7 separate regions of the Homo sapiens genome follow, and all the other regions are linked to region 2. The links are contacts of gene promoters, found by promoter capture Hi-C in blood cells and fetal thymus (Javierre and others, 2016). All regions are on one chromosome and are shown on one strand. The core of a region is centred on a gene start or on the middle of the fragment in contact, and the rest is flanking DNA. Distances in the headings are between cores, read along the strand shown. Region 1 overlaps AIM2 (absent in melanoma 2). Region 2 holds the start of OR10X1 (olfactory receptor family 10 subfamily X member 1). Region 3 holds the start of IFI16 (interferon gamma inducible protein 16). Region 4 has its middle 16 kb from the start of AIM2. Region 5 overlaps IFI16 (interferon gamma inducible protein 16). Region 6 has its middle 19 kb from the start of PYDC5. Region 7 overlaps PYHIN1 (pyrin and HIN domain family member 1).

Region 1 (4,106 bases), core at 482-2,981, 490 kb after region 2:
AAGGCTGGAGGATCACTTGAGGCCAGGGGTTTGAGACCAGCTTAGTCAACATAGGGAGACCCTATCTTTACAAAAAATATTTTCAAAATTAGCCAGGTATAATGGCACATGTTTTTAGTCCCAGCTACTTGGGAGGCTGAGGCAAGGATAACTTAAGCCCAGGAGTTCAAAGCTGCAGTGAGTCATGATTGCACCACTGCACTCCAGCTTGGATGACACAGTGAGACCCTGTCTGTCTCAAAAAAAAAAAAAAGACAAGAAACAAAAACTATGAAGTAGTAGTCGTCTTAAATTGGTATAACACTTTGGAAAATGGTTTGGGACGCTATTTATTAAAATTCAATATCTACTTACCTTAACATCCAGTAATACCATTCACAGGTGTACAGTCAAGAGAAACACACATACAAATACAAACATACAAAGATAAGTATATAAGGCTTATAATGTACATAAATATTCATAGCAGCATTATTCATAATGGCCTCCAATGACTAAAATAACAATAAAAATACACCAATTCTCTCTCTCTATATATATGTATATCAGTTTATGTGTATATGTAATTATCAATTAAATGGAATCTTATGTAGTAGTGAAAATGAATAAACTGCTGCTATGAAACAAGGGCTGATTTCTTTCTTTTTTTTTTTTTTGAGACGGAGTCTCACTCCGTCACCCAAGCTGGAGTGCAGTGGCGCAATCTTGGCTCACTGCAACCTCTGCCTCCTGGGTTCAAGTGATTCTCCTGCCTCAGCCTCCTGAGTAGCTGGGATTACAGGCTCATGCCACCACGCCTGACTAATTTTTGTATTTTTTTAGTAAAGATGGGGTTTCACCATGTTGTTAAGGCTGGTCTTGAGCTCCTCACCTCGTGATGCGCCCACCTCAGCCTCCCAAAGTGTTGGGATTACAGGCGTGAGCCACCGCGCCTGGCCACAGATTTCTAATTATGTTCTACAAGGCCTTGCATTTTCCTTCTGTCGAGGGGACCCCATCCTGCCCTCTGAAGATTCTCTGTACTGCAGCCATACTGGCCTTCTTTCAGTCCTCAAGCAAGTCAACACCTGCTGTCAGAGGGATTTTCACACAGTGTTCCCTCTGACTGAAGGTACCTTTAACTCCTATGCATTTTTCACAGCTTAGTGCAAGTCACTTCCCCATGGAACCCGCTTTGACCAACACCAACTCTAACTCCTGGCTTATGTTAATGCTCCTTTGACACATGCTGCTGAAGAACCATCTTCCTTTCCATCAGAACATTTGTCTCAGTTAGTTACCTGTCTCAGTTAATTTGCCTGTAAGAAAAATATCTACTTTCCCTTTAGAGTATAAACTGTACAAAATTTGGATTTGTTTTTAAAACCTTGTTTTATCATAAGAACCTAAAAGCTTTCCTTGTACCTATTAGCAATTCAATGGATATTTACTGAATGGATGAAGAAATGGATGGATGGGTGGCATGTTGGCTCCTCACTAATGCCTACAAAATGCAGTCGTATACTCTGGCTGGGCTCCTCCACGTCTATGGTCAGGTTATATGTTATCGTGAAAAGCCAACTCCTACTCCTGATTTTTAAAAAGACCATGTAACAAGATGGCCATGTTTGATGACTTAAGGCACTCTCAGGCAGAAGAGGGCCTGGGAAATTATTAGATGTTATTTCTGATAGAATTTGAACAATTCTGGACTGAAATAGCAAGGCAATCACTGATTTTACTAAAAAGAGAAACGATTTAATTATTAGAGCTAAGAGTAGAATGAACTGTCTTATGAGGTAGTAGGTACTCTGTCATTACCTTTCAAAGATCAGAAAGTGGTTGACTGTCTGACAGGGATATTGTAGCAGGATCTCTGCACTAGGAAGAAGTTAAACTAACCTTCCAATGGTAAGTTAGTTCCATGAAATTGGTTTCAGAAAGGTATGCAGATAAAGTCTCTCTTCTATGTTCACAGCATCGGAGAGAAAACAGCATCAAGGGAGGCGGAAGGAATCAACCTACCATTCTACCACATCACATCAGCCATATTTCATTTCACACACTGTGGTACCAATGCAATATTTGTGGACAAGCTTGTCTGCCAATTATAAATCTCTCATTTGCCTTAATAATCAGGTGCACATTGTTACTGATTATTTCATTTATCATTTTCAGCATTTTATTTTAATCTTGCAGGACTTTTGTGGACTTTGATCACATTTTCTCTTAGCTTCCTTTTTCTACGCTTATGTGTCCTTATATTTTCTCATCTTGCTTCATACAAAAGCTTCTCCTGTCTACTAATTATTGCCTCTGTCTTCATTAAAGATTCTCCAGGTATCTTCTACCTTCCATGAGGTGAGGTCATGAGTAGAATAGCATATAGCACTCTACATGCAGACATGCAATGGCAATGGAGAAGGATCACTTAACCAAGAATGACAGATTAACTGTTCAAAAAATAAAACAAAAACTGTTTTCCTAAAATAATAGAAATAGCATGGACACACAAAAATTTCCTACATTCAAAAGCGGCCTAAGTATGTCCGTGGATAGAATTTTAGAGCTATGAAGGAACTTAACTGCCTTCTTGTATAGCATGCAAGAAGCATACTTTGTGTTTTGTTGTTGTTGTTGTTTGAGACAGGGTCTCACTGTTGTTGCCCAGGCAGGAGTGCAGAGGTGTGATCTCAGCTCACTGCAACCTCTCCCTCCCAGGTTCAAGTGATTCTCGTGCCTCAGCCTCCCAAGTAGCTGGCATTACAGATGCCCGCCACCATGCCTGGCTAATTTTTGTATTTTTAGTAGAGACAAAGTTTCACTATGTTGGCCAGGCTGATCTCGAACTCCTGAACTCAAGTGATCCACCCGCCTTGGCCTCCCAAAGTGCTGGGATTAAAGGCGTGAGCCACTGCGCCTGGCCCAAAAGCATACTTTGAATCCTACAACTGTTACATTTGGAGACTCTCATTTGGGAGAGTCCTTGGATAATCTACTCCTGAGTTTCCAAGCTAGTCCCAAACTGGATCTTTTTTAGCTAAGCAGAATAACAAAATCCCAGAATCATTAGAATAGCAAAATGGGGAGAAGATTGTAGAAGGGGAAATTTTGTTCTATCCTGGTCAAAGAGAAGAATTAATTCTTGATTTATTACCAAAATAAAAGATATTTCTAAATATCTCAGCCTATGTTTGCCAATATGCCTAGATTCCTGGCTCATCCCAGATAAGAAAAACACAGGGCAATGTTTTGGTTGGTTACTTGGAAGTAACATGTGTAGTTACTGCCATCTAAGGGCCATCTCTAAGAACTACACCTTCTAACTTAAAGCCTGGGAAAACCACCACTCCTTTCTCTTTAGTGCCTTAGAAACTACCTAACAGTTTATATCTGTATAGAATTATGAATGTACATAGTATCACTTATGTGGCTTCATTTAGCCTTCCTATAACTCATGTGTGAGAAGCCATGTCACCCTTGTTGTACACCCACAAATGCTACTAAAAGCTATTATAATTTTTGCTGCTACTGTTGTACTTTGAATCCTAAAACTGTTGCATTTGGAGACTTTCATTTTGGAGAGTCCTTGAGTGATATGCTCCTCTGTTAGCTCCTTTTTGTTCTTCAGACATAAAGCTGGGACATATCAATTGTTCTTAGTAAACAAAATCAGGAATTTAAACTAAATGTAGATAATTCAGATGGAGATGAGTGATTTATTGAATAATGTAAAAAAAATCTTTGTGTTGTGGGTAATTTATACTGTCACCTGTACTGGAGATAGAGAGGAAAGAAAATCCCTGAAGGTGGATTCTCCCTCCCTTCTGAAGAAGGAGGAGATCATCGCCTAAAGAAGGATAGTCTGGGACCACAGAAAGCTGGGGACAAGGAGAGGAATAGACAGACTGTGTGAAGGAAAAAAGGTGCTCAATATCCTGGTTTACAGTTTTCCAATGCAATAATTTATACTTTCAAGACTTCAGTAGAATGTGACAGCATTACATACTGTGTAAATGGAGTTGGGAGAAGTTAACTTTGAAATTCTACGTCCATATTCACTGCAACTGAACTGGAGACAAAGATGGGCAAGGAGAAAAGATGTTAAATGGAAGTGGTAACCCTAA
Region 2 (4,227 bases), core at 152-2,651:
AAGTGATCTGCCCACCTCGGCCTCCCAAAGTGCTGGGATTACAAGCCTGAGCCATGGTTGACATCTTTAGATATTTAAAACATCACTCAGTGCAGTGGATTTATATGCTGTTTTTTCCTTCCACACTTTTTACTCAATTCATGAATACTGCAGGACACCCGGAAGTTGATTATCAGAATCTTTTATCTGCAGGGACATTCTTCTTCTGATACTGGATAGTAGAAGGGTTGGACAGCTTCTCTAACAAGCTAAGTAGATGCCTGTGGCTACTTAGTTCCCAGTCTGTGTCACTTGCTTCTTACATCCCAACCTCTGGAACAAGGCAAATGGTACAAGTTTCTCCAGGGGTCACAGGATAAATGCCCCTATTGAATTCTGGGGACATTGAGCCCTTCTTCAAACAAGCAGCAACAACCCAAGATTATTTTTTCAAGGCAACTGTGTTTCCCATCATTCTTCTAAAAGCATTTTTCATGTCCTTATTCCTCAGGCTGAATATGATGGGGCTGAGGAAGGGGGTAATGACAGTATAAGGGACTGCTATGAGTGTGTCATCTCCTGAGGCTTCTGGCTTCAAATAAACAATAGATGCAAAACCAAAGTGGATTATAACCACGGTGAGGTGGGAGGCACAGGTGGTGAAGGCCTTCTGCTTGCCCTCAGCTGAAGGGATCCTGAGGACAGTAGAAATAATGAAGACATCAGTCAGGATGATGAGCAGAAGGGTACCCAGCAAACCAGACACTGAGATCAGTGTTATAATGAATTCTGTGTGGTTACTGTCTATACAAGACAGCCTAATAACTGCCAGCATATGGCAGAAGAAGTGTTTGACAAGGTTGGGTCTGCAGAAAGAGTCCCTGAATATCAGTGCAGTCTCTGTAAGAGAGATAAAGAAGCCTGCAGTGCAAGCAGAGGCCACAAGTTGTCCACATACAATGTTGGTCATAAGCAGTGGATATCTTAGAGGGTTACAGATGGCCAGGAAGCGGTCATATCCCATCAAAGTGAGAATGATACAGTTTGTGCCACCAAGTCCCAAGAAGAAGCACATCTGTAAGCTACAACCTGTGACTGAAATGCTTCTGTCCTTGGCCAGTAGATCTTCCAGCATCTTGGGGACGATGGTCAGCGTATAGCAGGTCTCAGAGAAGGAGAGTGCACTAAGGAAGAGATACATAGGGGTGTGGAGGGACCTGTCCACCCAAGTTAGACCCATGATGATCAGATTACCTGCAAGGGTGAGAAGGTAGAGACAAAAGAAGACCACAAAAAGAAATGTCTGTACATGTGGGTACACAGAAAAGCCAACAAGAATGAATTCCTTCAGGATTGTCTGGTTGATCTTCATCGTTTGAATGTCTGAAATTTGAAAGAAACAACAATAAACATTCAACACCATTATCTTTTGATACCATCAAAGGAAAATTGTGATGACTAAGATAAATCATCAGAATTACAATTACCAACTGCTTTTTCTTGTAGTTTAGCAAAACTATGTATATGTAGGTAATGTGTTTTTCTCATTTTTCATCCATTCATTTTTTCCTTTATTCAGCAGCTAATTAGTGATGACTTAGTATATGACATCACTATGTATATGACAAGAAGGCTTGCTCTGGCCTATTTTTAAAAGGATTTTATGAGCATGTGGTATAATATGGGAGGAAACACTCCAGTTGATGCTCAGATAAAGGAGGTTCAGATGCATTAGGTGAGCTTTATTTGGATGAGCTTCTGAACACAGAGAAAACTTTTAAGTGGCTAATAGAGTCAGGGTCCAACACAGAAACTTCCACACAATGTATGGTCTATAAATATTTACTGCGTAAATATCAAGAATTGATTTCCAAGTAATTTTAGGACAAAACTTGGACAATCACTTGCAATTGTTGGAGAAGCCCAAAGTCATTAACCCTTCTTGGAGAATATATTTAGGTCCTAGAATTTTAAAAGAAAGTTAAAAAAACATGTGTCATTATTTCTGCTCTGAGAAGAGGGAAAGAAGAAAGATAGGGTAGCCTAGGACTCTTAGGATTAATAGTAATTAATTAAATCTGTGGATGGTTTTGATAAGCAGACTATACAAGCATAGTGCAGGTGGCAATTGAGATTGTGTCTATTTTGTTAATTCCCAGCTCAGCATTCAAAGAAAATAAGTGGCATTTAATAATTGTATAAATTTTTCAATAATGCTACATCTGATTTAATCTCATAGTCCTCTGATTTCTATAGCATGTTGTTAGTCCCTATATTTAACACATTGTTTCAGCCCTGTAGTATATTGAGCTACTGTTTTCCCTGCCCCATATGTCAACATATTTAATAACTAGCATTTGTGGGGTTTATATTTTTCCAAATTATTTCAAATGTTTATTGATTTTACTCTTCACAGCATAAATATAAAGTGAATGGGACGGTTGCGAAATGGGTAGGACAAGTGTGATTACTTATTTTAGAAATAAAATTATGTCTTGGAAGTGGCATATTTGTGACTAGAAGCAAAGAGATTTGACTTGAATTGTATACTCTTTTCATTTATCAATGCTTAGTGCTTCAAGAAAGAGACCATAAGTCTTATATTTTTGTATTTTTCAGAGTAATAATATGGAGCACTTTAAGAAGGTAATAATTCCTGGTGAATGTTAGATGGATGAGTTAATCATCAAAAAAGTGCTTAGTATATAAATGATTTTTGTTTTCCTTTGTTATTCAGCACTGTATAGCATTTGATTTTTGAGCATGGAGGTTAACAGACTTTCCACTCTAATTAGGTTTTGTTTAGGCTAAGATTAAGCATTCTCATGGCAGAGTCTAACTTATCACTGACAGTCAGAAGACACAGTAGAAAAAAGGTCTGAATTATAAGTGGTTCCTAAAATAATCCACAACCCTTTGGACTCTACTTTAAAGGTCCCTTTGGTTCTTTGTCTTCTTAGACCTTACAAGTTTCTTACTCTCTGACAGTCATACATGAATCACATGACTTAATCTTTTCTTATCTCCTATCAACTCTTTCTCCATTCTGTTTCCCTTTCACTTACTGTATCTACTCTTCTTAGTGAGCAGTCATTTCCCAATAAGAAGACCATTTTTCTGTTCTCTTACCTAAGGGAATATTATAGAGGACCATGTCTATTATAACCCGGGGCTTCCTCTTGAGGCCTTTTGGTGTGAGCCTCTTTAGTAACCACATTCAGTACGAGTATCTTTGGTTTCCAAATCTACTTGCAGATGATTGTTCCACTTTTCTCTATGATCAGCTTTCTGCTACATTTCAACTGTTCAGAGGCATCTTTTTCCTTCCAGAAGTATTAGGCTTCAATAGGTTCCTTCTGCTTATTCCTAAGCCACTGCAAAAAATTCCTCCTATCAGTAGAGCACTTCATACACCAATGCTCCCAAGCACTCTTGACCCTTCACAGTAACTCTGTAAGAAAGGAAATTATGTGGATTCTACAACTAAAGGATTAAATATAGCAAAGGGTAAATATGAAATAGATTAGCAAAACAATAAGTTATTTTAGTACTTGATGGCCTTGGTACAAAACCCAAGCTTTTTCTAACATACTACCAGAAAAAAAACAGTCTGATTTTACACGTGTTCTACCTCTTCCAACACAGCCCTGGGATTTGAGGCAGGGACTAGGGGGCAGCGAGGGGGTTGGAGGAGGTGCTGTTTTTAAAGTCACCATTAAATTCATAAGCTTTTTGAAAATGCAAATAATCACCAATACAAATTCCAAGATAGGTCTTTTCTTATCTAGTCCTTACTTGACTGTGTGCTAAATATTTCCTTGGTGAATCATCAGCAGTAGAGTATAAATGTCAGAATCTCCACTTCTGGTATATTCTAAATGTGTGCGTGATTTTGTATGTGTGTGTGTGTGTGTTGTGAGGATATTATGTCCCACCCTACCTCATCTATCTCTGAAGTTGTCCCTAAATCCACCTGTGTCAAATTTAATTTGGGTTATGAATCCACTGACATATATATATGTCATATATGACATATACGTGACATATATATATACACACGCACACACACTCGCACATACACACACACACTTTCCAAAGAGAAATGGTGATATGGAAAAGATATGTAATGTTATCCCAATGACCGTTTCTTTTTGTAGTGACAATTAGTTATGAGGAGAAGAGAGTAAAACCGTCTAAAATAGTTTCCTACCTTGTTTATTTTATCAGGCTCCAAAGCCAATTAATTCA
Region 3 (3,733 bases), core at 1-2,500, 430 kb after region 2:
CAGCACGCTAAAGGGCACCCACTGTCCTTAACAGAGAAAAATACACTGCTGAGCAGAGGATTAAACAGACTCCTCACACTACCGGAAGTTCAGTGCATTTTCCAGGATTTTCAAGTCTTCGATGCTGTCATGTTGAGAGTCCACTATCCACGTTTGTTTATCCAGGAATAATGCAGAAAATCTGAGCATTCGTGAATCTAATCATTGAGGTAAAGTAACCTAGTCATGGTCAAGAGGACAGCTAGTGTTAAACTCCTTCATATAAATTTAAGGAAGGATTTACATATTCATAATGACTTTCTGATCTGGAAAGCCCAGGCTTGTCAGTTATTAATAATTGGATGAATACTTCAGGTAGTATTTAAACAAATAGCGATTTCATAGCAGACATTTCCCCAACCAGGAGATGCAGTAAAGTATTGGTAGCAATAGATGCTCCTACCAAGATCTCCTCCTGCCACTGCCACTCTGTGCACAGGAAAGGAGGGGAGAAGAAGCCATGTTGCTTCTCTTATATTTGAGCATCATTTAAGGGAATATAAGTCTCTAATGACTCACATGTAAGTCTGCTGGGTAAGAAAGTTCTAATGTTGGAACTCCTTTCAGCTATCGAATTTTGTAAGAAAAAAAACTTATTTGTGTTTATATACATTTATGAGATACAAGTGTAATTTCGTTACATGGATATATGCCATATTGGTGAAGTCAGAGATTTCAGTGTGCACATCACCCGAAAAATGTTAACTGTACCCATTAAAGTAATTTCTCATCCCCCATTTCCCCTCACCACATGCTCCAGCCCTTGCCAGGAAACTGTTCATTTTCTCTGACTAACAGAAACGAAAGCTAAAAACACTGGTGGGAGGAGTCTCCACATTGTTTCCTACTCCATTTTCTCTGGGGCAATAGCAGAATAGGAGCAAGCCAGCACTAGTCAGCTAACTAAGTGACTCAACCAAGGCCTTTTTTCCTTGTTATCTTTGCAGATACTTCATTTTCTTAGCGTTTCTGGAGATTACAACATCCTGCGGTTCCGTTTCTGGGAACTTTACTGATTTATCTCCCCCCTCACACAAATAAGCATTGATTCCTGCATTTCTGAAGATCTCAAGATCTGGACTACTGTTGAAAAAATTTCCAGTGAGGTGAGTACTGTTCCTGATTTTGTAAATATGATCTTGTTCCTTCCTTGAAGTCCCCAGAATCACAAGGGGACAATCAGTATTGGTTATTCAGGGTCATGGGATGATGGGAGTAGGGCTGAGTATTCAGAAAAGTGAAAACTGAGTTGCTTGATATGAATCCTTCATTTACTTAGGAAGATAACAGGCATCTTCTATTCCACCACAACTGAGGACTGAACAAGAGAAAATGCATTTTGACCGTTGCAGATTTTAAAATTAATTATCCGAGTGTATACTGGCATAAGTTGGTACTTAGAAGAGGGCTTCTGTTATTTTGGCTGGAAGAAGTGTTGGAAACTCGGTAGCTGTGGTGGGTTCTCAAGATAGTGACATGAAAAAAGTATCATGAAAGAATATTAAGTAAAAAACATATCTGAGCATAGAGATGTATTATATGACATCATCCCAATTTTACAAAACATAAGAACAAATGTACACAGAGTAGAAAATTTTTTTCAGTTTCACAAACACAGTTACTCAAGCACATGGTGTCTTAATATTTTCATAAGTATATTGATCCTTTACTTTAGCTCCATTCTGCACCGGGTGCTAGCGGCAGAATTTCAATCATTTTGGAATTACTCTCTGCCCTCCTGAAAGTTAATGATTTTTTTTTTCCTTGTGGCAAGGTATAGGGGAGTGGAGGGGAAGGCAGTTAGGAAAAGGTTACTATTGTTTACTTTTCAAATTTTTAAAAGATGTTTTCTATAGCCTGGTACAATATTTCATGTGTGCTTAAATGGAATGTGAGATTCTTAAATGTTGTTTTCAGAATTTTATTAGATAAATGTTGTTAATTACGTTGTTCAAATTTATTATATCATTACAGATTTTTTCACCTTGTTCATTTAGTAATTGAAGCATAAACTGAAATCTCCTATTATAAAGTTTGCTTTTTTGGCCGGGCACAGAGGTTCATGCCTGTAATCCCAGTACTTTGGGGGAGACCAAGGCGAGCGGATCACTTGACGTCAGGAGTTCCAGACCAGCCTGGCCAGCATGGCGAAACCCTGTCTCTATTAAAAATACAATAATTAGCCGGGTATGGTCATGTGTGCCTGTAATCCCAGCTACTCAGGAGACTGAGGCAGGAGAATCGCTTGAACCAGGAGGCAGAGGTTGCAGTGAGCCGAGACTGTGCCACTACACTCCAGCCTGGGTGACAGAGCAAGGCTCTGTCTCAAAAAAAAAAAAAAATTTTTTTTCTTTGTAGTGCTCTCACAATCACATACATGTTATGTGTATATATAATATACATTCACACACAAATATATGTATATATAATCATGTATACAAACAGGTACACACATATATGTGTGTAGTGATGTCTGTACATGTGTGTATATGAAGAGAAATATATACTAATTATAGTACCATGAAGCACTATAAAATAATAAATAATATCATTAGATAAATTAGATAAATTCATAACTAAAACATAATTTTCTAGGAGTTGAAACTTTTATCATGTGGTATCTGAAGTTACTTTTGGGCTTAAGGTATATTTAAAATTACACAAACATAGATAAACTGGCTTTCTTTAGTTATTCCTTGCAAGATAATTTTTAACAATTTTTTTCACCTTTTGTTAACAATATATATGTAGATTTCTTAAATCAAATTTGATGAAAGTTGTCACTTAACAGGTCAGACCTTTTAGGTATATGCTGGTAATTAACAATCTGCTGTCTTTACTTCAATTTATGACACTTCTATATCATCTCACTATCTAAGACAATTGCTTTAGTGAATTGTCATGTTCTTTTTCTTCCCTCCCTTTACCATGCTGTTGTAATTTCTGTTTCTCTTATATTTGATCAGGGTTTTCTTTGTAAGACATTAGGAACACCTAAAAAAGTTTATTTTTCACTCTTCTTATCTTTTGGCTGGCAGAATTTTTAATTTTATTCATGTTTTCCTATTAAATATTATTTTCAATAGATGTTTTCTTGTGGTATGAGTCTTTGTCTTGCAAAAAGACTGAGGCCCTGAGTATCACAAAATAGTTTTTGAGACTCTTCTATTTAAATATCATTTTGCCTAAATTAAAACTCTAAAATGTAAAATTATATTTTCCCTTAAGACAAGATGAAAGCACCTCTTCTGTGCTGTGGAGCTAGATACATTTTGAAGTTAAGAATCTGGAGGCTTCAGAAAGGCTATTTAGTGTATATATTCTAAATAGTGTCTTACTAGAAACTCCATTGGGATATAAATAATTACTCCAAAATCAAAAGCACTAATATTGCAAAACAAAACATGTGAGTGTTCACATTTCAGTGAAATAAAGATTATACATAGCCTACTGTCATCCCAAATCTGGTTTTATTTTGCAAATAAATTGTGCTGTCACACTTGTTGGAAACAAGTGCTCAGTGCCACAAAGAAAAACCAGCACTTAAACAGGAAATTTCTCAGCAAAGCATATTTGCTTCTACAGAAGGGTGCTGCCTGCGTCAGTCACAATGCACATTCTAAGCTGACCGGATTGGCTACTGCTTTAAATTCTATAGGGGTAATTAGGCGGGAAGGAAGACACTGTCCTGTAC
Region 4 (3,820 bases), core at 101-2,600, 510 kb after region 2:
TCAATTTTTGTTTTTGTTTCTATCTCTAAATAAAAATGTTTATTTAAATGCCTTCTATGGACACTTCAGACCAAGTCCAAAACTTTACCTTAAGGTGAAAACTCTTACTATTTTTCCTACAAGGTTGTGTTTGGGAGGTTATTCATTTGTCTTTTATTTTTTACCATGAGCTGTTTGTCTAGTCTCCTGACATGGTAACTGGAGACACAGATCCCTCTGTCAGAGTCAGCATCAAACATGTGTAAGGCATGTTTTGACTCTAGCAAACCATCAGGGAAATAATTTTTGATCGTTCTTTGAGTTAAAATTGTCTTTTACATTGATGCTAAAGACTTTCCCTAAGCAACCTCTACCACATTAGCATAAAGTGTCTGAGTTTCAAAGATTCCACCTCAAATGGCTCCCTTGTGTTCAGCACCATCACTCCCTCCTGGTATTCTTCTTCCTGAGTAACTTCCTATTGACCTCCTTTCCCTTTCAGTCTCTTGCTGAAATGGAAACATCAGAATGAAGGGGCAGGCTGTATGTGGGAAAGATGAATCACCATTAAATGAGAAACCTCAATCCTAATGCTAGTCTTGTAGAAATTGGCTTGTATGGTCCTGAGAATGGTAAAAATAATTAATACAAATAACTTTAAACATTACTTAATAAAGTAACAAATAATACAGCTAGAAAAGAGAATGATAGGATAAAGGTTACATTTTTTATATTTAGCCATTCTTGGTCTTATAAGTGTAGAAGACAGAAAAGCTTGTGTCCAATCCTATTAATACCTTAAAGCCATGTGTGGCATTACAACCACTGAAAAAATGCTGGGTAGAGTCAGTCCACAATGACATGCTTGTCACGACGTGCTTTGGCAGGTTCTGCCTTTCCCTTTACTTATTCTAGGCTGGGTCCCTTTTGACTACTGTCAGCAGTGAAGAGGAGGAGAAACTCCTCTGATTTCTGAAGATTCACAAGTTACAAGACTATCTTATATGCTTGAGGATGGCCAGCATGTAACTGGTGACAATGAACAAAATTATATACTTACAAAGTGCAATCGTTACATTATCCTGATCATCTCTTGTGTTGACAGCAATCTGTAGGATGGGATGAATCAAGGCAGCCAGCTGAAGTCCTGCCCTCTGGATGCCCTTGGGGGAAGGTATTTGGAGAGTAACTTAGGGGGTGATGTATAAAGGATGTGGTAACAAATGTTATGAGTGTGTGTGTGTTCACTGACACACCAGCAATTGCCAAAGCAAAAATGGTGGCTTCGTCCCTCTCTATTGAAAAGGGCCTGCTTAGAATGTGGATGCTTAAACTGCTGTCACCTATAAAAATATTCTAGCATGAAAGGGGCCTCAAGGATACACAAAACAGAAAGTAAATGGTATCCACTGAAGTTAGCAATGTAGCAGGGCCACAGGAAACAGAGGGTGATTGCCCAAGGGCACACACACCCTAAACATAGTCCTATTTCTAATGTTCAAATTAAGGAAAAAAACAATTAAGTGAAATCCTTAGGTGAGTCATCTTATCATGAATTAAAAATTATTGAAAAAAGAGGGCAATTATAACCTAACAATTCTAATTCCTGATATTTGCTGTAGGAAACAAATATATAAACTCATTTAAATAAATGACTATTCACAATTTTAGCAGTAAAACATGAAAATATTATCTGAACATGCAAAACTAAGAGACTAACCACCAAAGTGACTCAGGAAATGATTCACCATGTTGCATAAGCTGAAAACAATTAAGTTACTACATAATATGTAGAAGATGGCCTAAATGTTATAAATATATATATGCAGCAGGAGTTTGTAATAGCAGATAACAATTTTAGCCCTAACTATGAATAAGTTAAACTCCAAAAACATACTCCGCAATTACACAGATTAGAGACTGGCCCCTCTTCTGGACCCAGGCCCACATTATCAGACTGAAGGAGGTTAAAGCTTATTTTCTGAGGACAAGGAAGAACACGGTGAAGGGTAAGGTGGGAGAGGTGGGGAAGCATAGGCAACATCATGTCAGGAAGTGGAGAAGGAGGTGAATCCTCATGTCCTAAGTATTCTCTAGGCCCAGCCACAACTCTGGGAATAGGAACAATTGTACCTACGTTCAGACAGAGAAACCAAGATGCAGAGGAAAGAGGATAGGTTACTTGCCTGAGGTTACAAAGGTGTAAGTAGAGGAGTCAAAATTTGATCCCAGGGGCTGGACACACTGGCTCACGCCTGTAATCCTAGAACTTTGGGAGGCCTAGGTGGGCGGATCAATTGAGGTCAGGAGTTCGAAACCACCCTTGTCAACATGGTGAAACCCCATCTCCATTAAAAATACAAAAAAATTAGCTGAGTATGGTGGTGGGCACCTGTAATCCCAGCTACTTGGGAGGCTGAGGCAGGAAAATTGCTTGAACCCAGGAGGCGGAGGTTGCAGTGAGCCAAGATCGCGCCACTACACTCCAGCCTCGGTGACAGAGTGACGCTCCGTCTCAAAATAAATAAATAAAAATAAATAAATAAATAAATAAATAAATAATTTGATCCCAGAACTTTTACTTCCAGAGGCTGAAATCTTAACCCCATACCATTCTGATTTCGCATAAATAAAATACTGAAAGCACATTAACCCATACAAATACACAAACACACGCAACTTCATGACACTAATGGAAAAGAAGTACTAATGACAGCATATATATAATTCTACAAGATCTAGCATGATACTTCAATTCCCCTTCTCAGCTATACAATATTAAAAGGCATCTAAATTTCCTGAGGGTCAGTGCAGTGACGTAGCCAGAACACACTGAATTCTGGGAGAAAAATTGGATTTAATATTTCTTACAGATTAACAAATCTTATTCACTGCTGGTAGCATAGGGAGATACAACTTGTTTGGAACATAATGCTGTATTATCTATTAATTTTGAAGACACATACATCTTATGACACAGCACTCCCAGTCCCAGCAAGACTTTTAGCAGCACTGTTAAAGCCAAAAAACGGGGAAACCTGTCAAAGGGACAAATAAATTGTGGCATATTCATGGATACTCATGTGCTGGAATACATTACAGCTGTGAAAATGAACTGCAGTTATGACATAATGAAGATCAGCAAGTTACAGAGGAATGTATATAACATTTTATTTATTTAGAAAATATATATATACATATATATGTATGTGTATATATATATACAGAGAGAGAGAGAGAGAGAGAGAGACGGAGTCTTGTTCTGTCACCAGGCTGGAGTGCAGTGGCACAATCTCGGCTCACTGCAACCTCCACCTCCCAGGTTCAAGTGATTCCCCTGCCTCAGCCTCCCGAGTAGCTGGGATCACAGGCGCCTACCACCATGCCTGGATATTTTTTTTTTTTTGTATTTTAGTAGAGATGGGGTTTCACCATATTGGCCAGGATGGTCTCGATCTCCTGACCTCATGATCCACCTGCCTCGGCCTCCTAAAGTGCTGGGATTACAGGCGTGAGTCACTGCACATGGCATATTTAAATTATAAAAATTTGTAAAAACTTAATATATTGTTCATTGTTATAAAACTTAAATGAAAAGCAGAGAGATAATAAGACACAAAATTTAGTCGTAACTTCAGGGAACTGGAAAGTGGCTAGAACCAGAGGACAGACGGGAACTTCAGAAATAATGATAACACTCTATTAGGTTGGTGCAAATGTAATTGCAGTTTTTCCCATTTAAAAGTAATGGCAAATGCCACAGCTACTTGTGCACCAACCTAATACTAATATTTCATAAATTGGGTGGTAGGTACATAGCTATTCATTGAGCTGGTGTACT
Region 5 (4,221 bases), core at 754-3,253, 450 kb after region 2:
TTATTTCTTTTCTTCTGCTGCATTCGTGTTTGGTTTGTTCTTGTTTCTCTGGTTCCTTGAGATGTGACCCTAGATTATCTATTTGTACTCTTTCAGACTTTTTGATGTAGGCATTTAATGCTATGAACTTTCTTCTTAGCATCACCTTTGTTGTATCTCAGAGGTTTTATAGGTTGTTTCTCTATTATCATTCATTTCAAAGAATTTTTTAGTTTCCATTTTGATTTCATTATTGACTCTATGATCATACGGGAGCAGGTTATTTAATTTCCATGTATTTGCATGGTTTTAAGGTTGCTTACAGTTGAGTTCCAATTTTATTCCACTGTAGTCTGAGAGAGTACTTGATATAATTTCAATTTTTTTTTTAAATTTTTGAGACTTGTTTTGTGGCCTATTATATGGCCTATCTTGGAGAATGTTCCATGTGCTGATGAAAAGAATGTATATTCTGCAGTTGTTGGGTAGAATGTTCTGTAAATATCTGTTAAGTCCATTTGTTGTAGGGTATAGTTTAAGTCCAAAAATTTTTGTTTGTTGACTTTCTGTCTTGTTGGACTGTCTAGTGCTTTCAGTGGAGTATTGAAGTCAACCAGTATTATTGTGTTGCCATCTGTCTTATTTCTTAGGTTCAGTAGTAATTGTTTTATAAATTTGGGAGCTCCAGTGTTAGGATTGTGACATTTTCCTATTGGACTAGTTCTTTTAGCATTATGTAATGTCCCTTTTTGTCTTTTTTAACTGCTGTTGCTTTAAAGTTTGTTTTTTGGTGTCCATTTGCATAGTATATCTTTTTCTACCCCTTTACCTTATGTTTATATGAAACCTTATGTTTATGTGAGGCCTTATGTGTTAGGTGAGTCTCTTAAAGACAGTAAACACTTGGTTGGTGAATTCTTATTCATTTTGCTGTTCTGTATGCTTTAAGTGGAGCATTTTGGCCATTTATATTCAATGTTAGTATTGAGATGTGAGGTCCTATTTTATTCATCATGCCATTTGCTGCCTAAATACCTTACTTTTTTATTACTGTGTTATTGTTTTATAAGTCCTATGAGATTTATGCTTTAAATGTTTTATGTTCTATTTTGGTGTATTTCGAGGATTCATTTCAAGATTTAGAGCTCTTTTTAGCAGTTCTTGTAATGCTGGCTTGGTAGTGGCTAACTCTCTCAGCATTTGTTTGTCTGAAAGAGACTTGATCTTTCATTTATGAAGCTTAGTTCACTGGATACACATTCTCGGCTGATAATTGTTTTGTTTAAGGAGGCTAAAGATAGTACTCCAAACCTTTCTAGCTTGTAGGATTTCTGTTGAGAAATCTGCTTTTAATCTGATAGGTTCCTTTATAAATTACCTGATACTTTGCTTCACAGCTCTTAAAATTCTTTTCTCCGTCTTGACTTTAGAGAGCCTGGTGACTATGTGCCTAGGCGATGATCTTTCTCCAGGGTGTTCCCCGGGTGTTCTTTGAGCTTCTCGTATTTGGATGTCTAGATCTCTAGGAAAGCCAGGGAAGTTTTCCTCAATTAATCCCTCAAATATGTTTTTCAAACCTTTAGATTTGTCTTCTTCCTCGGGAACACCAGTTATTCTTAGGTTTGGTTGTTTAACATAATCCCAAACTTCTTGGAGGCTTTGTTCAGTTTTTTTTTTTTTTTTTTGAGACACACTTTAGCTCTTGTTGCCCAGGCTGGAGTGCAATGGGGCGATCTCGGAACACTGCAACCTCCACCTCCCAGGTTCAAGCAATTCTCCTGGCTTAGCCTCCCAAGTAGCTGGGATTACAGGTGCCTGCCACCACGCCCAGCTAATTTTTTGTATTTTTAGTAGAGCCAGGGTTTCACTATGTTGGCCAGGCTGGTCTCATACTCCTGACCTCAGGCGATCCACCTGCCTCAGCCTCCCAAAGTGCTGGGATTACAGGCATGAGCCACCATGCCCGGCAGCTTTGTTCATTTTTAATTCATTTTTCTTCATCTTTGTCAGATTGAGTTAATTCACAAGCCTTGTCTTCAAGCTCTGAAGTTCTTTCTTCTACTTGTTTGATTCTATTGCTAAGACTTTCCAGTGTGTTTTGCATTTCTCCAAGTGTGTTCTTCATTTCCAGAAGTTGTGATTTTTTTTTATGCTCTCTATTTTTTTGGAGATTTTTCCATCCATATCCTGTAACATTTTTTAAATTTCTTTAAGTTGGTATTCATCCTTCTCTGGTGCCTCCTTGGGTAGTTTAATAATCCACCTTCTGAATTCTTTTCTGGCAATTCAGAGATTTCTTCTTGGGTTGGATCCACTGCTGGTAAGGTAGTGTGATCTTTTGGGGCTGTTAAAGAACCTTGTTTTGACATATTACCAGGATTGTTTTTCTTCTTCCTTCTCATTTGGGTACACTATATCAGAGGAAACATCTGGGACTCAAGGGCTGCTGTTAGGATTTTTTTTGTCCCACAGGGTGCTCCCTTGATGTGGTGCTCTCCCCCTTCTCCAAAGGATGGGGCTTCCTGAGAGCTGAACTACAGTGATTGTCAACACCCAGCAGAGCTACTGTGCTCCAGGCTCCAGGCTGGTACTGGGTAGTGTCTGCAAAGAGTCCTGTGATGTGGTTCGTCTTCAGGTCTCATCCATGGATATCAGTACCTGCTCCTGTGGAGGTGGCAGGGCAGTGAAGTGAACTCCATGAGGGTCCTTGGTTTTAATTTTGTTTATTGGGATAATTTTGTGTTGGTTGTCCTCCAGCCAGGAGGTGGAGCTTTTAAGAGAGCATCAGCTGCAATAGTATAGGGAGGATACAAGCTTGCCCTAGGGTCACTTGAAATAGGATTTGAGTTTCTCAGGTGGTGGGTGGGGGGGCCACAGAGCTCCCAAGAGATTATGTCCTTTGTCTTCTGGCTACCAGGGCAGGTAGAGAAAGACCATCAGGTGGGGGCAGGGTTAGGTGTGTCTGAGCTCAGATTCCCCTTGGACAGGGAAAGCTGATGCTGCTGTGGGGGATGGGGTGTGATTCTCAGGCCAATGGAGGTATATTCCCAAGGGAATTATGGCTGCCTCTGCTGTGTCATGCAAGTTGCCAGGCAAGTTGGGGAAAGCTGGTAGTTACAGGCCTCATCCAGTTCCCACACAGCCTGAAAGGCCAGTCTCACTCCCACCATCACCCACCAACAACGCTGAGTTTATTTCCAGGCAGCAAGTGAGCAGAGCTGAGAACTTGCTACCAGCCTCCCTGCTGAGAAAGCAAGCAGGGTTTTCAGAGTTCAAGCCTCCCTGCCTGCTGTGGCTTCTGTGCTGGTGTCTGCACTCCCAGATCACCCCCACCCCTGGGTTCTGTCCAGGAAATTTTGTGTTCGGTCGAAACTTCAGCTGGAAGTTTTCTTCTCCCTGTGGTATTTCCCCAATTCTACTGGCAGCCCTCCTGAAGGACCTTTGTGAGACAAAGTCAGTAATGGCTTCCCTGGGGACTGAGAGAGCCCATAGGGCTCTTCCCGCTGCTTCCTCTACCCCTGTATTTCGCTCAGCTCTCTAAATTCACCTTAGCTCCAGGTAAGGTCAAATCCTTCACTTGTGATCCAGACCTTCAGGTTCCCCAGTGAGGATGTATGTTCATGGGTGGATGATCCCCTTTCACACTTTCACACTTTGGGCACTCACAGTTTTTCTGCTGTCTCCTGGAGCCTGCAGCAGCAGTCCGCTTTTTTTCAAACGTGCCATTTTGAATATTCCACTCACATTTAAATGGAAAAGCCTATTAAGATATATTAGGAGAATGATGTTCCTCATAGGCTTCAAAAGGATATAAAACTCGTGGTAAATAATAAAATATTTGAAGAAATTAGGAGGGTGGGGAACCAATATAATGCAGTGGCCAAAAGCAAGGACTTTGGAATAGGAAAGACTTGTTCTACATCTGGCACATTAGTTTCCTGATATTGGGAAAAATAGCTTTTAAATATTTCTCATAAGATTGGTTTAAAAATTAAATGAGATAATGGAAAAATATTTCTTATTCCATTGCCTTGTACATTATGGGAAATCAATGTGCAATAGGTCCTATTGCTCTTAGCAAGATAAAGACAAACACTGGAAAGATTTCTAGGGAGAGAAAATGTCACATGCAAATGTTAAAATGTGAAACAGCATAGTGAGTTCTGTATAAATTGGTATATGTAGAAAGGTATAGGAAAATGATGCAAGACAGGTAAAAAGCAGCCCTCCAACAAGCTGGCT
Region 6 (3,711 bases), core at 1,149-3,648, 400 kb after region 2:
AATCATAGTTTGCAAATACTTTCTCCCATTCTGTAGACTATCTTTTTATTCTGTTGATAGTCTAATTTGCTGTACAGAAGATCTTTAATTAGATCTCACTTGTCAATTTTTGTTGTTGTTGCTACATTTGCTTTTGGAGTCTTTGTCATGAAGTCTTTGCCAAGGCTAATGTCCAGAATAGTATTTCCTAGATTTCTTCTAGGGCATTTACAGTTTTAGGTTTTACATATATAAGTTTTTTTTAACTTTATATTGAGTAGATTTTTTATATGGTGAAAGGAAGGGTTCCAGTTTTAATTTTCTGTATATAACCAGCCAGTTATCCTGACACTGCTTGTTGAATAGGAAGTACTGTTTCCATTACTTGTTATTGTCAACTTTGTTGAAGATCCAATGGTTGTAGGTGTGCAGCTTTATTTCTGGGTTCTCTAACCTGTTCCATTGGTCTATGTATCTGTTTTGTTCTAGCACCATGCTACTTTGGTGACTGTAACTTTGTAGTATAGTTTGAATTTGGATAGTGTGATGCCTCCAGCTTTGTGGTTTCTGCATAGGATTATTTTGGTTATTTGGGATCTTTTTTGGGTTCCATATAAATTTTAGAATAGTTTTTCTAATTCTGTGAAAAATGACATTGGTAGTTTGATCAGAATAACATTGAATCTGTAAATTGCTCTGGAGAATATAGCCATTTTAACAATATTGATTCTTCCTATCCATGAGAATGAAATGTCTTTCCATTTGTTTGTATCATCTCTAATTTCTTTTAGCAGCATTTTGTAACTCTTGTTGTAGAAATCTTTTACCTCCCAGGTTAGCTGTATTCCTATGTGTTTATTCTTTGTGTGGCTATTGTGAAAGGAACTATGTTCTTGGTTTGGCTTTCAGCTTGGGTATTATTAGTTGTATAGAAATGCTACTAATTTTTGTACATTGATTTTGTATCCTGAGACTTTGCTGAAGTTGTTTATAATTTCTGGGAAATTTGGGGCAAAGGCTATGGGGTTTTCTGGGTATAGAATCATATTACCTGCAAAAGGAGGTAGTTTGACTTCCTTTCTTTCTATTTGGACGTCTTTTATTTTTTTTTCTCTTGCCTGACTGCTCTGGCTAGAACTTCCAGTGCTATGTTGAACCAGGAGTAGTGAGAGTAGGCAACTTTGTCTTGTTCTGGTTCTCAAGAGGTATGATTTCAGCTTTTGCCTATTTGTGATATGATGTTGGCTGTGGTTTTGTCATAGATGTCTCATTTTGAGGTATGTTCCTTTGATACCTAGTTTGTTGAGGGTTTTTAACATGAAAGAATGTTGAATTTATTGAAACCTTTTCTGCATCTATTTAGATAATCACGTGATTTTTGTTTTTAGTTCTGTTTATGTGATAAATCACATTTACCAATTTGCGTATGTTGAACCAACTTTGCATTCCAGGGGTAAAGCTTACTTGATCATGGTGGCTTAGCTTTTGCTGTGCTGCTGGATTTAGTTTGCTAGTATTTTTTTTTGAGGACTTTTGCATCAATATTTATCAGGCATATTGTCCTGAATTTGTTTTTCCTTTGTGTTTCTGTCAGGTTTTGGTATCAGAATAATGCTGACCTCATAGAATGATTCAGGGCAGAGTCTCCGCTCCTCAATATTTTGGAATAATTTTGGTAGGATTGGTATCAGCTCCTCCTTATCTATCAGGTAGAATTCAGATGTGAATCTGTCTGATCCATGGCTTTTGTTGGTTTGTAGGTATTTTATTATGGATTCAATTTCAGAACTTGTTATTGATCTGTTTAGGTATTCAATGTCTTCCTGGTTCAATCTTGGCAGGTTGTATGTTTTCAGGAATTTATCTGTTTCTTCTAGATTTTCTAGTTTTTCAGCATAGAAATTGTTCATAATGGTCTTTGAGAGTTTTTGTATTTCTGTGGGTTCCATGGTAATGTCCCCTTTGTCATTTCTAATTGTATTTATTTGGATCTTCTCCTGTTTTTTTTTTTTTTTTTGTATATTAATCTGGCTAGTGGTCTATATATCTTATTCTTTCAAAAAACCAATTTTTAGTTTTCTTAATTATTTTTGTGAATTTTCACATCTCAATTTTATTTGGTTCAACTTAGATTTTGATTATTATTTTTCTTCTGCTAGTTTGGGGGTTGGTTTCCTTTTGTTTTTTCTAGTTCCTGTAAATGTGATGTTAGGTATAAATTTAAGATATTTCTGACTTTTTGATGTAGGCCTTTAGTGCTATAAACTTTTCTCTTAACACTGCTTTAGCTGTGTCCCAGAGACTCTGATATATTGTATTTTTGTTTTCATTAGTTTCAAAGATTTCTTGATTTCTGCATTAATTTAATTTATTACCCAAAAGTCATTCAGGAGTAAGTTGTTTAATTTCCAAATACTTCTATGATTTTCAGAGATCTTCTTGGTATTGATTTGTATTTTTGTTGCACTGTGATCTGAGAGTGTGGTTGATATAATTTCTGTTTTTTGAATTTCCTGAGCATTGCTTTATGGCCAAGCATGTGGCCAAGCATGTGGCACAGAGTATGTGCCATGTGCAGATGAGAAGAATGTATATTCTGTTGTTGAGTGGAATGTTCCTTATATGTCTGTTAGGTCAATTTAGTCAAGTGTGAAATTTTGTTCCTGAATATCTTTGTTAGTTTTCTCCCTCAATGATTTATCTAACAATGTTAGTAGGGTGTTGTATTCTCCCACTATTATTGTGAGGTTAGCTAGTTCTCTTCATAGGTCTCTAAGAACTTGTTTTATGAATCTGGTTGTGCCAGTGCTGAATGCACACATCTTTAGGATAGTTAAGTCTTGTTTGTAGAATTGAACTTTTTATCATTATGTGATGCCCTTCTTCATCCTCTTTGATAGCTTTTGGTTTAAGGTCTGTTTTTTTTTTCCTGAAATAAAAGAGCAACCCCTGCTCTATTTTGTTTGTTTTCCATTTGCTTTATAGATATTCCTCCATCCATTTAATTTAAGCCTGTGTCTTTACATGTAAGGTGGGTCTCTTGAAGACAGCATGTAATTGAGTCTTGCTTCTTTATCCAACTTACCATTCTGTGCCTTTTAAGTGGAGTGGTTAGCCTGCTTATGTTCAAGGTTAATATTGATATGTAAGGATTTGATCCTGTCATAGTGTTATTAGCTGGTTGTTATGTAGACTTGATTGTATAGTTGCATATTGTGTCAGTGGAATATTTACTTAAGTGTGTTGTTTTGTGGCAGGTAGCAGCCTTTTGTTTCCATGTTCAGCACTCCCTGAAGGACCTCTTATAAGGCAGGCCTAATGGTAACAAATTCGCTTAGTGTTTGTTTGTCTGAAAAGGATTATGTTTCTTTTTCACTTACAAAGCTTGGTTCGGCTGGATATGAAATCATGGTTAGAATTTCTTTTGTTTAAGAATGCTGAATGTAGGCCTTTAATCTTTTCTGGCTTGAAAAATTTCTGCTGAAAGGTCCACTGTTAGTGTGATAAGGGTTCCCTTTGTACATGATCTGCCTCTTCTCTTTTGCTGCCTTTCATATGTTTTATTTACCTTGATCTTGGAGAATTGGATAACTATGTGTCTTAGGGATTGTCATCTTGTGTAATATCTTGCTGGGGTACTCTGAATTTCCTGAATTTACATGTCAACCTCTCTAGCAAGGTCAGGTAAATTTTCAGGGACAATATCTTCAAATATGTTCTCCAAGTTGCTTG
Region 7 (3,852 bases), core at 1,203-3,702, 380 kb after region 2:
AGGTAGAGTCTACCCCAGAGCAACAGAATACAAGAGGGGAAAGGTCAGTTCATGCTATGTGCATCAATTCTTATTCCAGATTACCTTTTCCTCTGACATGATGGGGTACTTACCTGCACTCAGGGTTCAGAAGCCTGTATTTATGGTGAAAGGGCAGGAAACTTGGAGGAAAAGCAAAAGAATTAAATCACTATTTTTACATTCATTTCTCACCCAAGCCCTAAGCTGCATTCTGACCCAGCAACAGACACCTCCACCACCTTATATACACCCTGGAAGATAAGCTTCCTATATACAAGCTCTCTATTTTGTTTTCATTGTTATCATTGTAGTTCTTAGTTTTAATTAACTATATTGCCTCAATAGTTTATTCAAGTATTATTTGAGCTAGCAGCCTGTGTCTTTTTGCCAACTTGGCACAAGTGGCTATGAATGGAGCCCTTGCTCAATCATTGCAACCGCAGATCCATATTCTCTTGGCCACTTCAATATCCACTTAAATGAACATCTCCAGACAACAATGCCTTTCTCACTTACACTGATTGAATGGGATTATGTAGGAATTTCTAAATCTTACCTGCCAAAATCTTAATCACAACCCTTGCTAAAGCTGTACAGATTATTCTGCTGTACATGAACATCTGTAGAGCACAGCAATCCCAGGAGGATATTATGCCTTTATGGCCTCAAATACCTAAACACATCATGCAGCCATTTATTCTTGGGTGTCCAACTACCACCCGAAAAAAAGAGTATCCAACTACTTACTTATGGCTCACTAGGTGAGCAGGAAAGTCTTGTGCCACTCATCATGGGTTTGCCAAAAGATTTTGTCTGATATAGGTTCTATATGGATTGGGACTTAAAACAAGAAGCAGCCTATTCTTATCATTGATGTCTTATGTTATGTTAACCTAAAGCCAAAAACTCAAATTGACATGAATCAGGACCAGGGATGGTAAGGAAAAGAATTACTCTGAGAAAATTTTTTTAATAATTTAAAATACTAGTCAACCAGAGTATATATTTTCTCATCTAAATTCCACCATTGTGATGGACTGTTTTATTTGGCTGTTTTTGAGAAGATAGTAACTCAAGATGTTTTTGTCAATAAGTGGTAGATATGAATAAAGAAGTTTCTTTAATAAAATACTTTCTATACCAATTTGATCTAGGGTTTCCATGAGAAAGGTAAACAGGGAGTATGAGACATAAGTGATCAGAGTAGACATCCAAATCCCTGCAGAATGAGTATGATACCAATCATAAATGATATTCTACTTTCTGAGTATTTACAGGGTACTGGTTTTTAAAACCTGCATTCTATATGTATATGTATATTATCACATCTCTTTTTCATAACACAGTCATGAGAATGCTACTCACAGCCTTATACATAAGAGAAAACTGAAATACATAGGATTTAAAAATATTCCCCAAGTTCACAAAGATAGTGAGTGTGCTAAATGTAAATTATATGTACTTTATGTATCTTTTCTTATTTGTTCTTCCTTACACTAACTTGATGATGTCATTATTAGTCACATTTCATATTTCTAAATACTGAGGAAATGAGAGGTTAAATCTTCATTTAAGATACTGCTTTTGAGGGCCAAGATGACTAGCTAGAAACAGGTAGTGTGTACCACTCTTGTAGAGAGAAGAGAGTAGCAAGTAAATGCTAGATCTTCAACTGGAACATCCAGGTGGACCATTGAGATCCACCGAGAAAACAACTTTACCCATGGAGAATAGAGAAGAGTGAGACAAGACAATTGCTCACCTGGGAATGGCACGGAGCCAGAGGAGGCTTCTCCACTGCAGGGAAATGGTGAGTGAGTGAGAGTCTCTGGGGACCCATACTTCTGCCACGGACCTTTGCCACCCTGGGCTCAGGAGATACCCCTATGAGACCACCCCACTGGAGCCTTCAGATTGAGAGGGAAAGCTAAGTGGAGCCTGGGCAGAGCCACCACTCAGGCATACAAGGAACCCTTGGAGCCTTGGATCCAAGTATCCTGGAATTAGCGGCTGCAGCTCTGGCAATAGGGGAGGTCAGGCTGCCTCACAGGCCTTCAGAAAAGGAGCTGAATCCAGGGGACTAAGCAGCACTGGACTCTAAGCCTCGCCTCCACTGCACCTCACAGGATAAAGTCCACTAGCCTAGTACTCCAGCCACCCCCCTGCCTGAGCTCATGGGCCGGTAGCAGCTCTGCACTTCCCTGGGTTGGAGCCCCCAGAGGGAGAGGAAGCCCACCATTTTTGCTGTTTCACAGCCATTGTCACGGCTGCCTTCAGGCCCTGGAGAGTGTGTGGTGATTAGGGACTGGCTGGATCCCCAGCACAGCACAGATGCCTCATGAAAAAGTGGCCAGACTGTTTTATACGTGGATTCCCGATGCCAGTTCTCCTCACTGGGCAGGACCTCCTGACTTCAGACTCCAGTTACTCCCTACCTGGGCTTTGGTGACTATAGCATCTCTATACTTCCCTGGGATGGAGCTCCTAGAGGGAAAGGTAGGCTGCCATTTTTTCTGTCTTGCAGCCCTTGCACCAGTTGCCTTCAGGTTCTGAAGGATGGGCAGTGATTAGTGATGGGCGGATCCCCAACACACTGGAGCCACCCCACGGAGAAGTGATCGGACCGTTGTATCCGTGGGTCCCTGTTCACATTTCTCCTCACTGGGTGGGGCCTTCAGGCCTAGGACTCGAACACAATTACCCTGCCCCCTCCTGAACACTTCAGTGGAAAGCAGCTTTGCATTTGTCTCAGGAGAAAATCTCAGAGACAACCCACAACTCCTCCACCATTGCAGCTGCAGTGGCACTGCCCTAACTGCTCTCGAGCTGGGAAAGAAACAAAGGGCCTGGTCACTACACTGGCACCTCCAGCACACAGCAGCGAGCATTGGAGAGGAGTCCAGTCTCTCTTCCCTATGAGCTCCCAGCCCTACTCTTCATCAGACAGGGCTCCTGGCTTTGAACTGCAAAACAGCTGCCCCACCCATGGCTAAGCATACGGTCTGCTAGTAACTCTGTGTTTCCCTGGGGAGGGGGTCCCAGAGGCAACTGACAGCCCCACTGCAACGGCCACAGCAGTGGTTCTGCCCCTGATCCCCTTAGTTCAAGGAAGAAACAAAGACCCCGAGAGTTTCACCTGCGCTTCCAGCACACCACAGTCACCATACAGGCAGCAAAGCACAGTCCCTCCTCCCTATGAATCCTCAGTGCCCCACTCCTCAACGAGCTGAGCCCCTAGTTGTGGCCAGCAATGTAACTTCCCATTCTCTAGCTGAACATTCCCAGTAGCAGCGGCTCTGCATCTCTCTGAGGTGCAGCTCCCAGAGGCAACCAAAAGCCCCTCTGCCACTGCTGCTGCAGTGGTACTGCCCTGCTGCCTTCAGACTGGGGAAGGAACTGCAGTTGCCCTAAGGAGAAGAACTCAGTCTATCTCTCTTGTGACCCACCCGTAGCCCTGCTCTTCACCAAACCGGGACCCTCTGGCTTGGGCCCACAGCACAGCTGCCCCATCTTTGGCCAATTGCACTGGCTGATAGCAGCTCCTCGTTTCTCTGGGGTGGACCACCAAGAGTCAAGTGAAAGGCCCTCTGCCATAACCACTGCTAAGGTTTCTTCTGCTGCAGCCTTCAAGCTGGCGAGGGAACATAAAATCTGAGCTCATCCCAGAGCTGCAGTGTGCCAAGCCAAGATCTGGAGCCAGTACTCAAGTGGGAAAGGAGCCCACACTTTCAGAGCACTGAGAGGGAGCATGCCCTGCATATGGCAGAGCAAGAGCCTACCTACTGGCCAATACACTTAAGCACCACCTACTGGATCACAGCCCAAAACTTC

The links. The method cuts DNA at HindIII sites, captures the fragments that hold promoters and counts their contacts. A CHiCAGO score of 5 or more calls a contact.
Region 1: a fragment that was not itself captured here is called in contact with the fragment with the promoter of OR10X1 in region 2 in 3 of 17 cell types (megakaryocytes, erythroblasts and activated CD4 T cells); the score reaches 7.6 in megakaryocytes.
Region 3: a fragment that was not itself captured here is called in contact with the fragment with the promoter of OR10X1 in region 2 in 1 of 17 cell types (erythroblasts); the score reaches 9.5 in erythroblasts.
Region 4: a contact is called between a fragment that was not itself captured here and the fragment with the promoter of OR10X1 in region 2, in 1 of 17 cell types (erythroblasts). The highest score is 5.1, in erythroblasts.
Region 5: a contact is called between a fragment that was not itself captured here and the fragment with the promoter of OR10X1 in region 2, in 1 of 17 cell types (erythroblasts). The highest score is 6.1, in erythroblasts.
Region 6: a contact is called between a fragment that was not itself captured here and the fragment with the promoter of OR10X1 in region 2, in 5 of 17 cell types (erythroblasts, M2 macrophages, M1 macrophages and 2 more). The highest score is 10.1, in erythroblasts.
Region 7: a fragment that was not itself captured here is called in contact with the fragment with the promoter of OR10X1 in region 2 in 5 of 17 cell types (erythroblasts, M2 macrophages, fetal thymus and 2 more); the score reaches 7.2 in erythroblasts.

Annotation. Positions count from the first base shown.
Region 1 is chr1:159,068,905-159,073,010 of GRCh38, forward strand. All of the region lies in intron 2 of AIM2 (absent in melanoma 2), which reads right to left. Among named protein-coding and RNA genes, the nearest start is that of AIM2, 5.8 kb to the right of the region's middle. The HindIII fragment of the contact is 683 bases long and covers 1,391-2,073 here.
Region 2 is chr1:158,578,498-158,582,724 of GRCh38, forward strand. OR10X1 (olfactory receptor family 10 subfamily X member 1) reads right to left here and starts at 1,402. Exons shown (of 1, transcript NM_001004477.1): 1 at 422-1,402. The coding sequence starts at 1,402. The coding sequence ends at 422. The HindIII fragment of the contact is 11,722 bases long and covers 1-3,554 here.
Region 3 is chr1:159,009,017-159,012,749 of GRCh38, forward strand. It overlaps IFI16 (interferon gamma inducible protein 16), which reads left to right and starts at 891. Exons shown (of 12, transcript NM_001376587.1): 1 at 891-1,145. LOC124904432 (a long non-coding RNA gene) reads right to left here. Exons shown (of 2, transcript XR_007066671.1): 2 at 3,491-3,733. RefSeq lists an enhancer at 748-827 and a silencer at 3,600-3,709. The HindIII fragment of the contact is 5,786 bases long and covers 1-3,733 here.
Region 4 is chr1:159,090,530-159,094,349 of GRCh38, forward strand. It overlaps a transcript of AIM2 not described here. Among named protein-coding and RNA genes, the nearest start is that of AIM2, 16 kb to the left of the region's middle. The HindIII fragment of the contact is 1,199 bases long and covers 752-1,950 here.
Region 5 is chr1:159,028,034-159,032,254 of GRCh38, forward strand. The region is part of intron 6 of IFI16 (interferon gamma inducible protein 16); the gene reads left to right. Among named protein-coding and RNA genes, the nearest start is that of IFI16, 20 kb to the left of the region's middle. The HindIII fragment of the contact is 1,575 bases long and covers 1,217-2,791 here.
Region 6 is chr1:158,982,050-158,985,760 of GRCh38, forward strand. It overlaps a transcript of PYHIN1 not described here. Among named protein-coding and RNA genes, the nearest start is that of PYDC5, 19 kb to the right of the region's middle. The HindIII fragment of the contact is 1,925 bases long and covers 1,437-3,361 here.
Region 7 is chr1:158,959,804-158,963,655 of GRCh38, forward strand. All of the region lies in intron 7 of PYHIN1 (pyrin and HIN domain family member 1), which reads left to right. Among named protein-coding and RNA genes, the nearest start is that of PYHIN1, 30 kb to the left of the region's middle. The HindIII fragment of the contact is 4,341 bases long and covers 283-3,852 here.